Linked DNA regions of Homo sapiens: region 2 is linked to region 1. The links are contacts of gene promoters, found by promoter capture Hi-C in blood cells and fetal thymus (Javierre and others, 2016). All regions are on one chromosome and are shown on one strand. Each heading gives the region's core, a stretch centred on a gene start or on the middle of the fragment in contact. The rest is flanking DNA. Distances are from core to core; before and after follow the strand shown.

Region 1 (6,566 bases), core at 3,219-5,718:
CCGTCTCAAAAAAAAAAAAACCTACATAGTATGATGGATTTTTTTTTTTTTTTGAGACAGAGTCTCACTCTGTCGCCCAGGCTGGAATGCAGTGGCACCATCTCGGCTCACTGCAAGCTCCACCTCCCGGATTCACACCATTCTCCTGCCTCAGCCTCCCAAGTAGCTGGGACTACAAGCCTGGGTAATTTTTGTATTTTTAGTAGAGACGGGGTTTCACTATGTTAGCCAGGATGGTCTCGATCTCCTGAGCTTGTGATCCGCCCGCCTCGGCCTCCCAAAGTGCTGGGATTACAGGCGTGAGCCACTGCGCCTGGCCCATACTATGCAGTCTTAACGTTAAAATACTTTTGTTGCATTCAAAGTCTTTATACATATGTAAATTGAGACAGTCTCACAGTGTTGCCCAGTGTGGTATGGAACTACTGGCCTCAAGCCATCCTTCCACCTTGGCCTCCCAAACTGCTGATTACAGGCCTGAGCCACTGCCCCTGGCCCAAAGTCTTTCAATTCGTTACATACCGCAAACAGCACACATGGTATCATTTGGTATATGCAACCAACCAGAATGAGACAGTTCCCAACCATCAAAAAGGAAGGTGACAGCGTAGTCTGACATGGATTTGTAGCACTACCTTTTACTCAGACAAAATTACATACTTAAAACATACATACCTGCTTGTGAGAAACAATATAAGGAAAAAAAATAAATAAATAAAACATACATAAAATATACCTGAAAAAAAGTTAAGCACATCTTCCATAGTGCATGACCAGGGCAGTCCTTGAGCTCGAATGAGAAAGACATCATCCACTTCCTCTTCTAACTTGGACGGGGCCAATTCATACTCAGGGGGTGGTGGAAGGTCTTCCAGGTAAGTAGTTTTGGACTCCTTCCAAAGGAAATGAAGAATTGTAAAAAGAGTTGCATTTACAGGTAAAAAATGTAAAAAAATTCTTAGAAAATGTTTATTCTACAAACTAACATTCTAGATGTTATTTCAGAAGCAAAAAGTAAACTTCACCAATGTAACCCATCCTGTTTTGGCTTAAATTGTACATCCAAAAGCCATAAGCAGGTATATCCTAAAGGTTTGGCAGGACACAAATTTCATTCAGGGTTTGTTTTAAAATTCATCAACCCCAAATTATAGCTAACAATAGTGTAGTTAAGGCAACACAAGAAAGGTCCTGACAATTTGACAAATATTTGATTGCCCCTACACACAGTGTTTGCCGCCCTCATCTGAAATAGCTATCTAGAATACGATAAGCATACAAGATGAGATACTGAGTGCTATAATTAAGATACAAAATACTACAGGAATTCAAATCAGAGCACTAACAGATGAATCAGGATGTGACATGAGATGGGCCTTGAAGGAAGGATAGAATTTTTATGAGGATATAAAAGATAGGGTATTCCAGTTTGAAGGCGAGAGAAAGAAGCAGTACGACCAAATGCCCATTTGAATAACAGCAATTAATTCCAACTGTTTAAATTAGGAGCCAAAGAAGGTGACCTGGCAAAAGAGGTTGGTACCATAGAGCAGAGGGCCTTGAGTGTGGAGCTCAATGTGTGTCCTTCACTTGGTAGGCAAAGATAAGTTAATACAAGACACTGAGGACTGGGTAAATCAACAAGACAGCAGGACGCCTTGGGAATATTCCTCTGTCAGCTGGTATGCCAGACCAAGTGATTAAGGGAAAGATCTTAAAGACAACGGCAGCAGTGTGAGGCTACAGACTTGTAAAGTCTCTTTTATCGGATTAAGTAAAACTGGAATTTAGTAAGAATCCACGAAGCACTACAACCATAACCTAAGAAGACAACTCAGGCTTTAAGACTTGCACTCTACTGGGCCAGGTGCGGTGGCTCACGCCTGTAATCCCAGCACCTTGGGAGGCCGAGGTGGGCGAATCACGAGGTCAGGAGTTCAAGACCAGCCTGGCCAACATGGCAAAACCCCATCTCTACTAAAAATACAAAAAATGAGCCGGGTGTGGTGGCGTGTGCCCGTAATCCCAGCTACTCGGGAGGCTGAGGCAGGATAATCGCCTGAACCCGGGAGGTAGAGGTTTCAGTGAGCTGAGATCTCGGCATTTCACTCCAGCATGGGCAACAGAGCAAGACTCCGTCTCAAAAAAAAAAAAAAAAAAAGACTTGCACTCTACCGGACTAAGGACAGAGATATCTTTCTACTATCTGTCATTTTCTTTTCTTTTCTTTTTTCTTGAGACGGAGTTTCGCTCTTGTCGCCCAGACTAGAGTATAATGGCACAATCTCGGCTCACTGCAACCTCCCCGGGTTCAAAGGATTCTCCTGCCTCAGCCTCCCGGGTAGCTGGGATTACAGGCGCCCGCCACCCCGCCCGGCTAATTTTTTTGCATTTTTTTAGTAGACACGGAGTTTCACCATGTTGGTTAGCCTGCTATCGAACTCCTGACCTCAGGTGATCCACCCGCCGCAGCCTCCCAAAGTGCCGCGCCCAGCCCTATCTATAATTTTCATTAAGGCTTAATGTTAGGCCGGGCGCGGTGGCTCACGCCTGTAATCCCAGCACTTTGGGAGGCAGAGGCGGGCGGATCACGAGGTCAGGAGATCGAGACCACGGTGAAACCCCGTCTCTACTAAAAATACAAAAAATTAGCTGGGCGCAGTGGCGGGCGCCTGTAGTCCCAGCTACTCGGGAGGCTGAAGCAGGAGAATGGCGTGAACCCGGAAGGCGGAGCTTGCAGTGAGCCGAGATCATTCCACTGCACTCCAGCCTGGGCGACAGAGCGAGACTCGGTCTCCAAAAAAAAAAAAAAAAAAAGGCTTAATGTTTAGTTTTAAGGAATAAATGTAAGCAGTGTCTAACACATAGTAGATGCTCTACAGATATCACCGCAGTCAATTTCATAGAAAAAAAAAGAGAGAAGCTAGCTCACAAAGGTTTACTGGAGATGGTTTTGTTGTGGTTTTTGTAGACAACTTTCCCCATTTTTCCATAATTCCATAAGCATCACAAGCTTTTACAGAAAAAGGCAGCGTAAAGTATTGGGCCAGGATTCAAATCAATTAGCTCAGCCACTGGCAGACAGCAGCCATGCTGATTAGCCTCCCAGTCTCCCTAAGTTAAAGGAGAAGCACAAATTGAATTAAGATAAATATGACCTAAGGAATCAGGGGCTGGGTAGTTAAAAAGTGTGCAGACACTTCCCAGATGCCACGTACCAAGAAGAGAAAGGTTCATCTACAAAGCACAAAATATTTGCAATCTAACTACACACCGACTTTTCTAAAAAAATAAAGAAAAAATGGAAAGGAAAACATTGCAAATTCATTCCTGGGACCCCAAGTTGTGTCCTCAACCCTCAACGCTCCCTCCCATTCACCCCCTCCCCCCAACAGCTAAATCTCCAAACTGCTTTCCCAGACGAGGCGACACACAGTCCTTAAAGACCTTCTGTATGAGTGGAGTTGCAGAGGTGACCTTCAGTAAACCGGGACAGCTCGTCTTTCCCTGGGGACAGGAGAGGGAACGGCGCGATGGGGACAGGCTCCTTCCCTACAAGCCAGCCCACGCAACTGTGTGCGCGCACCTTCCCAGCAGCGGCCGACCGAGAGGCGCCGAGGGCCGCCCAGGCCTAGCGCTCGGGCTGCACGGAAACTCCCAACCCTCCGGCGGGCTCGGGCCTCGCAACTTCACAACCAGCCGGCGGAAAGCAAGAAGATGCGAGGTGGGGGCGTCAGCAGCCTCACGAAACCTACCATGGGCCAGGCGGGGAACAAGGCCTCAACATTCACCCCAGCCACACTTACACTGCCCAACCGACCAGAGACTCGAGGCGAGAACAAAACAAGCAGAAGACCCGACGCCTGGGAGAGCTTCCCTTGTTCCAGGGCCCAATAGGAGCACAGGGTGGACGGGGGCGGGTGTGCGGCGAGTGTCGCGGATCCCCGGGCGTGCCCGCGAGGCGCACACGGAGGGACGGAGGGGCGCGGGGGCGCGTGCACGCGGCCCGGGAGGGATCTCGCGCCAGGTCCCTCACGGCGCCCACGTACCTGGCTGTAGCTGCGCGTCGGGACGGCGGCCGCCGCCGCCAGCGACTGCGGCAGCAGAGAGGCACGGAGGGCAGAGTAGGACGCGGCGGCCGCGGCCGCGGCAGAGGTGGCCACAGCGGGAGGCCCCGCCAGCCTCCCGGGAGGCACAGGCCCGGTCTGGAGGCCACGCGTCTGGGAGGCAGCGGCCGCGGCGGCCCCGAGCAGCAGCAGCAGGCGGCGGCGGCCCGAGACGCCCGACGGGATAGAGCCAGCGGCGGAGTAGAAGGGCAGGCAGGCGGCGCCGGTGCGCCGGCAGCTGCTGCAGTTACAGCCGCAGCCCCGGAGCAGCGCCCCGAGTACCCAGCGCGTGCCGGCCATGGACTCCGGAGGCGGCGCAGGGCCTGAAGGCAGCTGCTCCAGCAGCGATGGTGGAACGGAAGTGGAATCCAGGGCCGGTTGGGGGTGGGGTGTGCCTGGCACATGCGCCGCGGGCACTGGGTGGGGGGCCTCCGAGAGTCGGAAGGAGGTGGAGGAGAGCGCGACGCTCCGCCCAGTCTCCGCCCTTGGGCGGGGCTGCCCATGGTTTGGGCGGGGCTGCCCATGGTTTGGGCGGGGCTGCCCATGGTTTGGGCGGGGCTGCCCATGGTTTGGGCGGGGCTGCCCATGGTTTGGGCGGGGCTGCCCATGGTTTGGGCGGGGCTGCCCATGGTTTGGGCGGGGCTGCCCATGGTTTGGGCGGGGCTGCCCATGGTTTGGGCGGGGCTGCCCATGGTTTGGGCGGGGCTGCCCATGGTTTGGGCGGGGCCCGGGGAAGTGGGTGCAATCGAACTGCTCTTTTTTCAGGCGGTGGAAACTGAGGCCCAAAGTAAGTGAGGCTAGGGGCCTGGCGCAGTGACTCATTCGTAGTGACTCATTCTTGTAATCCTAGCACTTTGGCAGGCAGAGGCGGGTGGACTGCCTGAGGTCAGGAGTTCGAGACCAACCTAGGCAACACGGTGAAATCCCGTCTCTACTAAAATACAAAAAATTAGGTCGGACGCGGTGGCTCCCGCCTGTAATCCCAGCACTTTAGTAGGCCGAGGTAGGGCGGATCACCTGAGGTCAGCAGTTCAAGACCAGCCTGGCCAACATGGTGAAACTGTGTCTCTACTAAAAACACAAAAATTAGCCGGGTGTGGTGACGGGTGCCCGTAATCCCAGCTACTCAGGAGGCTGAGGCAGGAGAATCGCTTGAACCCAGGAGGCGGAGGTTGCAGTGAGCCAAGATCGTGCCACCGCACTGCAGCCTGGGCGACAGAGTGAGACGCCATCTCCAAACAAACAAACAAAAAAATTAGGTTAGGGCCATCCTGCTCTGGGTAGGGCCGAGAGCTGTAGCACAAGTCTGTGCTGCCCTGCGCTGTGCCACCGAAACCCGTGGTGTGAGTGGCTAAAGAACCCTTTCTGAAAGGAATTGTGATACCTTGGTTATAAAAAAATCGTTGGGATAATATCAGAGATTTGGTACCCCCCGAATTTGAGGTATGTGAGGAAGGAGAACTTCGTTGTTTTAAAATGAAATATAGGCCTGGCGTGGTGGCTCATGCCTATAATCCCAGCGCTTTGGGAGGCTGAAGTGAGAGGATCACTGGAGCCCAAGAGTTCCAGACCAGCCTGGGCAACATAGGGAGACCCCGTCTATACAAAAAATAAATAAAGCTGGGTGTGATGGCGTGGGCCTGTAGTCCCAGCTACTTGGGAGGCCGATTGCTTCAGCCCAGAAGGTAGAGGCTGTGGTAAGCTATGATTGCCACCACTGAACTCCAGCCTGGGTGACAGAGTGAAACCCTGTCTCTAAAAAAATAAAAGAAAACATATATATTTATTATGTACTGATAATACATAACAAAGGTGAACCCTCCCCTAATGAAACTGTATTCACAAGTGAACACACAGAGATTTGCACACACATACACAAAGACTGGTTGTGCAGCTTTTCTCCTCCTGAGCCAGGACTTGTCAAAGACAAGCAAAAGGAAGTTGTTAGAGTAAAAAATAAGAGAAAGCTAGTATTTTTAAAAACTCCTTACTGTGGAAAATGTCAAACAGAAGAGCAGAATGAATTTCCAGAACTTCATAAATTGTCAACACTTTTCAGTCTTGTTTCATCTATCCCCTACCACCATCTTCCAGACCTTATTTTCTTTGCTAGAATATTTTAAAGCAATGGGTATTACATTTAAAGTTTGACTTGTTTAACCTGGACTACTTTTAGGTAAGGAAAATTCAGTATTTCTTAGAAAACCCTTTCCCCAACCAAAAAACAAAGAACAAGAAAAAAATTGATAGGCTTGGCTCTATGAACCTGGAGTATCAAAGAAAAAGGGGTTTAGTTTTGTTTTTTGGGCTAAAATACAGTCCGACGGAGAGTATTGTCATTTTTATACAAAAACAGGGACAAAAGAAAAGGCAACAGTGCAAATACTCCATCTTCCAGGAAGGGAGGCTGGGATGCCTCAGTGTTAAAATGACAAAAGAAAACCCCAGAGCAAGAACCAT
Region 2 (6,594 bases), core at 1,540-4,039, 3.1 Mb before region 1:
AAAACAGTACCAGGCATTTAATAATAATAGATAACCCTGTGCTACATATTTAAGTGCTTTAGATGTACTTATTCAGTTAACCCTTACAACAACCTTGTCCAAACAGTGGGCAAGCACTATTGCTATCTCCAACGAACAGATGGAAAAAAGAGGCTGAGGGAGGTTAACTTAAAATTTGCCCAAAGTCACAGAGCAGGCAAATGGCACTGCCAGGATCTGAACCCAGGCAGTCTAGCTCTTGACTACCACACATACTGCCTACTGTTTCTGATATTAGACATAAAGGAAACACTTAAAAAAACCTGTTAAATGGGATGGGCGCGGTGGCTCATGCTTGTAATCCCAGCACTTTGGGAGGCCAAGGCAGGCGGACCACCTGAAGTCAGGAGTTCGAGACCAGCCTGACCAACGTGGTGAAACCCTGTCTCTACTAAAAATACAAAAATTAGCCAGATGTAGTAGCAGGCGCCTGTATTCCCAGCTACTTGGGAGGCTGAGGTGGGAGAATCGCTTGAACCCGGGAGGAGGAGGCTGCAGTGAGCCAAGATCCCACCACTGTACTCCAGCCTGGGTGACAAGAGCAAGACTCTGTCAAAAAACAAACAAACAAAACAAAACAAAAAAACCCTGTTAAATGAATAAATTTTAAAGGAAAAAAACTAATCTAAATATGCAAATCTGACAAAGTATACTTATTATAGTAACATATTATTTATAGCAGTGCTCGTCCCATTTTCACAGCATGGCCTTCAAAAAACGTATCTGTACTAAACACTGGCAAGCAGAGATAATTCCCAGGTACAGGGAACCAGTCTGGAGCATTTGGAGCTGAACCACTGTGAGAGCTGAGATCAATATACTGGCAGAAGTGGAGGCCATTCCTAGTTCTGAGAAGCTCTAGTTGTCAATTAAAAGATTCTAAAAACAATGCGATGGCATCAAATTCAGGCTTGGAATCCAACTTTCTAGTCCTAGCATTGATAAATAAGCCAAAGAATTTGTAAACAAAGGTAATTAAAATGTTATCATTTATCTCACCAAACACTGGCACATATCAAATGATACCAGCTTCTAGCTAATTAAACGGATAGCTATTAAAAAAACTGATTCCAATTACCAAGGCAAATCAGAAGATAGCTGTGTTCTAAGAGATCACCTACCTAATAAAAAACACACACATACACAATATACCCTGTTTGGGCATTGTAACAAAATATAAAAATTAACAAAATTTGTTTCTTTTCTTTTTTTTTGAGACAGGGTCTCTCTCTGTCACCCAGACTGGAGTGCAGTGGCACGATCTCGGCTCACTGCAGCCTCGATCTCTCTAGACTCAAGCGATCCTCTCATCTTAGCCTCCCGAGTAGCTGGGACTACAGGCGTGCATCACCTACGCCCAGCTAATTTTTTTGTATTTTGTAGAGACGCGGTTTCGCCATGTTGCCCAGGCTAGTCTAAGAACTCCTGAGCTCAAGCGACCCGCCTGCTTCGACCTCCCAAAGCGCTGGGATTGCAAGCGTTTGAGCCACTGCGCCCGGCCAAAGTTTTTTATTATCTACTTTCCTATCATTTTATCCCTAGTACACTTTCACTTGCTGTTTTCCTTGCATGGCGGGGGCAATAGGCCTGGTGGGTAAATCTGAATAAAAACGAGAACAGCTGCAGTCTAACTAGCTCTGCCACTTAATGGCGTGACTGGCCCTTTTCAGAAAGTTGTGCCTCACTGGAATGTTTCAAAAATATGTAAAAATAATATGATCTATAAGACAATCAAAAACGCTTCAAATAAGGCGCGGGTTATATTACATAATATCCCTCCACTCTGGCAGTGTTGGCAATGGCAGACAACACCATGAAACTGAAAGCATCCCTTCAGTCTGAAACTGGCGAAAAGGCTACAGGTTTACAAAGTCTCACATCAGCTGAAAATAATACATCCATCAATTCTATCTTTGGCATGGTGTATTCTGACAGTGGTGGATAGAATGTAACCACTTGCTTTATTAATTATGAGATGATTGAAAGAGGAACTACTAACCAAGAAATTGGTAAAGGCCTAGCACAAATATTTTCCCCCTAATTTTACAGGGGCGGGAAAGACCTGAAGAACTTCAAAACCAAGTGGGAAATAAGAATGGGTAACTTGTGTATTTTTTTTTCCTGGCTTTTTTTTTTTCCTTCTTCCGAAGTCAACAAAGGCCTCAGGGTGTCCAGATTGCTACTGATTCATTCTTACCAAGTTCCTTCTGGTAATAGTTTTCAAAAGAGGATCTCAGTGGAGGTGCACAGTGGCGCTCCTAGCTTTCTTTTTACGGAAAGGAGGAAAGGTGCTTGGCACCAGTCGGGGAAGCTCACGCCAAGTGACCGAGACCAGAACTCGCTCTCGACCGGAGCCCCCCAAGTCTGGTGACTTGGAGGAAGGAGGATCCCGAATCCCAGCCAGAACTGAGAAAGCCCTCAAAGGTGCGGAAAGGGGACTTTTCCCTCAGGAAAGCCGGCAACAGCAGAGGCCCTAGCCCACGTCGCCACACCCACTCCGCGCGCGCCCCTCGCCTCCCAGGGCCGGCTCTGCTCGGCCCCGCGGCCTCTCGGGCGCCCCCAGCCCGCCGGAAAGAAAGAAGCAGAAACCCGGAGCCTGGGTCCCACCCGCGACCCCTCACCTTCGCCCTTCTCGTCCTCTCACCTGCCAGTCCCCCAGGAAGAACAGGACGCCTCTTCCCCCTGATGGGCGGCCACAGGCTCGGATCCTTCCATTGCCGCCTGAGACACCGCCGCCGGCTACTGGAAGGTAGGAAGGGGCGGGACCGTGGGGGGGTCAAGGGGCGGGCGGAGACGTCATCAGAGGGGGCGGGCCTGGGGAAGCTAGGAGCCCGGCAGCGCCTTCCCGTCAACCCTAGGGGCGTCCTGGTTTCCGGTTTGGGTGTGGCCGCATGGCGTGCTGTGGTGCAGGTGGCCGAAGGGGGCGTTACTGTTGCGACTGGCATCCGCATCCGGCAGATGTAGATGGAACCAAAGTCCAGAAGTTACGCGTCACCCTTGCTCTACAGCCAAACATGCAGGACTCTAGTAACCCGCGAAATGATGGGATAGCGTTGCAAATCCTTAAAAGAGTCTTAACGGTAAGAAGAGGAAACAGCTTTATTTTATAAATAAACTGAAGGCTGCTAATAGCTCCAGATTGTCAGTGAGGGGATACCACTTAAAGATGTTATACATTTAATAAATAATTTTGGGAGTCCACTACATGTGAGGCGCTGCCTCAGATTTAATAGAATCATGTGACTTTTAGTGCCATAGATGTCGTTAGATCATCCAGTTTGGTCCCTTAAATTTGTGGGTAAGGGAAAGGAACTTCCGGTCAGTGCAAGTGACTTGGTCAAGGTTATAGAGCTAGTCACTGTTAGATTACCAGAACACATATCTAAAAAGTTCTCATATAATTCTTTTTCATTTACTTCCGTGTCACCTTTCTTAGAAAGCAAAAATGAGTTGGACACAATAACATTAGGATTTGTCTTTCACTAAATAACACTGTATATTTGAATAAACATCTGCAGGATTTTTAAAATTAGCATATACTTTGGGTATTATGTAATTTTCTGTGATGTATCATATTTTTAATTAGAAATTTTTCCTCTCATATGGAGATGAGGGTCCAGGCAAAACTGTATTATCCTTCGTGCCCTCTATTCTCTTCAAAATTGCACATCTTAAAATACCTGGAAGCTTTATGTTGCTCACCTATAGCATTATCCGTGTTCCTCAATCCAGTTGTGAACCTTTTCCACATTAAAATGTTCTTGATCTGTGTTCTATTCTTTCAAGGCTCTGCTCTAGCACTAAGATAATGCTACAGGACTGAAGATAATGAAAAAGATTGAAGAAAGCAGAAACAGAACAAAAATCAGATTATTTCAAAGTTTCTTTCCTTGTAAAGGTTAAAACAGAGCATACTTCCTTATTATGCCCACTAGGTTAACTAGAATCTCCTGTTTTTTTAAAAAAAACTGGCTCATTTTTTCAAAATCCACTTTAATTACATGGTGCTTAGCACAAGCAACTCCATTCTGGTTTGATCTGATGGGGCCTAGTGTAGAAGGCTAGGCCAAAACAATGGCCTGCCATTACCCACGCTTCTTCATATTTTAACATCCATGAATAGAGGATGAATTTTTAAAAAATAAATACAGAAAACGATGCATCTTAAAATTGAGGGCATGTTAGATTTGATAAAATATGGTGTGAATTATTTCAGGCATGTAACAAGCAACCAGATTTAACAGATTTTAATGTTTTGTCACATATGTAAAATGGGAAAGAAAACTAGGCGATCACAGCTTTTTGACAGTGAGGCTTTATGTCATAAGAAAGTAGAATGACATATTGAGGAAACTTAAGGGAAAAATATGTAGGCCAAAGATTTTACATTCAGCAAAACTAATATACAAAAGGTACAAACTGTTATCAACAATTGATATATCAATTTGGTGAGACTAGTGTTTTCATGAGCCCCTCCTTAATAATTAATTGGAGAAAGTGTCTGACAATCAGAATTATTACAGAAACATTGATCTAAGGATTGACTCGGTTTCTTTACAGCAAATCATAATCTGTTGCATTTATTAGCTTTTGTGTTTCTTGTAGTTTATTCTTTATTACTAATTCTCCTGAGTTCTGTCACCTCATTTCTGAGGTTTTTCTAATTCAGAATCAAGTTCTTCCATATCTTTTATCATTTCTCTAATGTCATTTAGCTAGTTTCAAAATAATAAATTGTTTTGTAGTGCATCTTTCAGGCATGTTTTTATTATCTTTGATGATGATGTTATATTCCTTATTCTCTTCACATAATAACTGCATGGATTTGAACTTGATGCTTTTTTTGTTGCTCTTTTTTTTTTTTTTTTTTTTTTTTTTTTGAGACAGAGCCTTGCTCTGTTGCCCAGGTTGGAGTGCAGTGGCGGGATCTTGGCTCACTGCAAGTTCTGCCTCCCGGATTCACGCCATTCTCCTGCCTCAGCCTCCCGAGTAGCTGGAACTACAGGCACCTGCCACCACGCCCGGCTAATTTTTTGTATTTTTAGTAGAGACGGGGTTTCACCGTGTTAGCCAGGATGGTCTCGATCTCCTGACCTCGTGATCCACCCCTTGGCCTCCCAAAGTGCTGGGATTACAGGCGTGAGTTATTGCTCATTTTTATGTGAAATTGGTGTTCCTGAACTAATATGAGACAGGCTTCTTAGCCCAATAAGCCTAAGTTTATCAGGAACAAAACTGTATTCCAAGAAAGTCAGGTATATTAGTCTGTTTTCACACTGCTATAAAGAAATACCCGAGACTGGGTAATTTATAAAGGAAAGAGATTTAGTTGACTCACAGTTCCACATGGCTGGGGAGTCCTCAGGAAACTTAAATCATAGCAGAAGGTGAAGGAGAAGCAAGACATATCTTACACGGTGGCAGGAGAGAAGTGAGATCGTGGGAAAACTGCCACTTTTAAAACCATCAGATCTCATGAGAACTCCCTCATTATCACAAGAATAGCATGGGGGAACTGCCCCCATAATCTAATCACCTCCCACCAGGTCTCTCCTTGCACACATGGGAATTAAAATTTGAAGTGAGATTTGGGTGGGGACACAGAGCAGACCATATCATCAGGTTTACTGGCTCATTGCAAGGAGGGAGCCCACATTCCAGAAGAACCATGGGGTACCTCACCAACAGAGGAAGAGATAGATTTATTGTAGGAATTTGGGGAAGTATGGAGTTTAGAAGGAATTGAAATGAAGTAGTGCTTTGATAGACTCAAAAGAAAGCAAGGCTGTTTGTAAAGAATTCTACACTACATCTAAACTATTACTAATGGCAAAAACTGCAATTACTTTTGCACCAACGTAATACAAGATGGACCCAGGGTTCTGTTTTTTGGAAATTGCAAAGTTCTGCCTCTCAGAAGTAGAAACTATTTCTCTGTGTCAATGTGACTTTAGATATTCTAGCCAAGAGTGAGATATTTCAATCTTAATAATAGGATTTAAACAGCAGAGTTTTTGACAATCTTTTGATATTGTCATAAATGTTCTATGATTTTAGAGAAAAGGGCATTGTGTGAGTAAAAAATCAGTTACTCTAAGGGTGTGTGTGTGTGTGTGTGTGTGTGTGTGTGTGTGTGTGTGTTTGAGACATTTTAAAGCATCTTCCAGAGAGAAATAGTATTTTCTGTTAATTTCACAGCTGGCTTTATTTATGCCTGTTATCCCATAGCTGATGAATGGCAAAGCAGATTTTTACTTTCTTATTCTATGCTTATTTGCTTTCTCACAGGTTTTGGGAAAACTTTTCTAATTTCAGAGAATTCCCTTTTCTGTTGCTTTTGTGTAATGTTCAGCAATATTATGGTTTTATTTCCTTTTTAAATTAATACATACATAATAAGCATATATTTATGGGGTATTTTGATATTTGCGTACAAGGTATAATGATAAAACCAAGGTAATTGTGATATCCATCACCTCAAACATTGTTTATTTCTTTGTGTTAGGAACATTTCACATCTTGCCTTCTAGCTATTTTGAAATATATGATAAATTA

What was found. Contacts are between HindIII fragments. The CHiCAGO score rates a contact against its expected background, and 5 or more counts as called.
Region 2: the fragment with the promoter of UBA6 here is called in contact with the fragment with the promoter of GRSF1 in region 1 in 1 of 17 cell types (total CD8 T cells); the score reaches 8.6 in total CD8 T cells.

What each region holds. Positions count from the first base shown.
Region 1 is chr4:70,835,422-70,841,987 of GRCh38, forward strand. It overlaps GRSF1 (G-rich RNA sequence binding factor 1), which reads right to left and starts at 4,469. Exons shown (of 10, transcript NM_002092.4): 1 at 4,050-4,469; 2 at 737-893. The coding sequence starts at 4,406. It overlaps LOC124900710 (a long non-coding RNA gene), which reads left to right and starts at 3,571. Exons shown (of 3, transcript XR_007058131.1): 1 at 3,571-3,724. RefSeq lists enhancers at 3,172-3,826, 3,827-4,480 and silencers at 3,877-4,426, 4,487-4,736. The HindIII fragment of the contact is 9,073 bases long and covers 3,012-6,566 here.
Region 2 is chr4:67,698,366-67,704,959 of GRCh38, forward strand. UBA6 (ubiquitin like modifier activating enzyme 6) reads right to left here and starts at 2,790. Exons shown (of 33, transcript NM_018227.6): 1 at 2,684-2,790. The coding sequence starts at 2,754. It overlaps UBA6-DT (UBA6 divergent transcript), which reads left to right and starts at 2,913. Exons shown (of 2, transcript NR_015439.1): 1 at 2,913-3,119. RefSeq lists silencers at 2,514-2,683, 2,814-2,883. The HindIII fragment of the contact is 4,018 bases long and covers 1-3,724 here.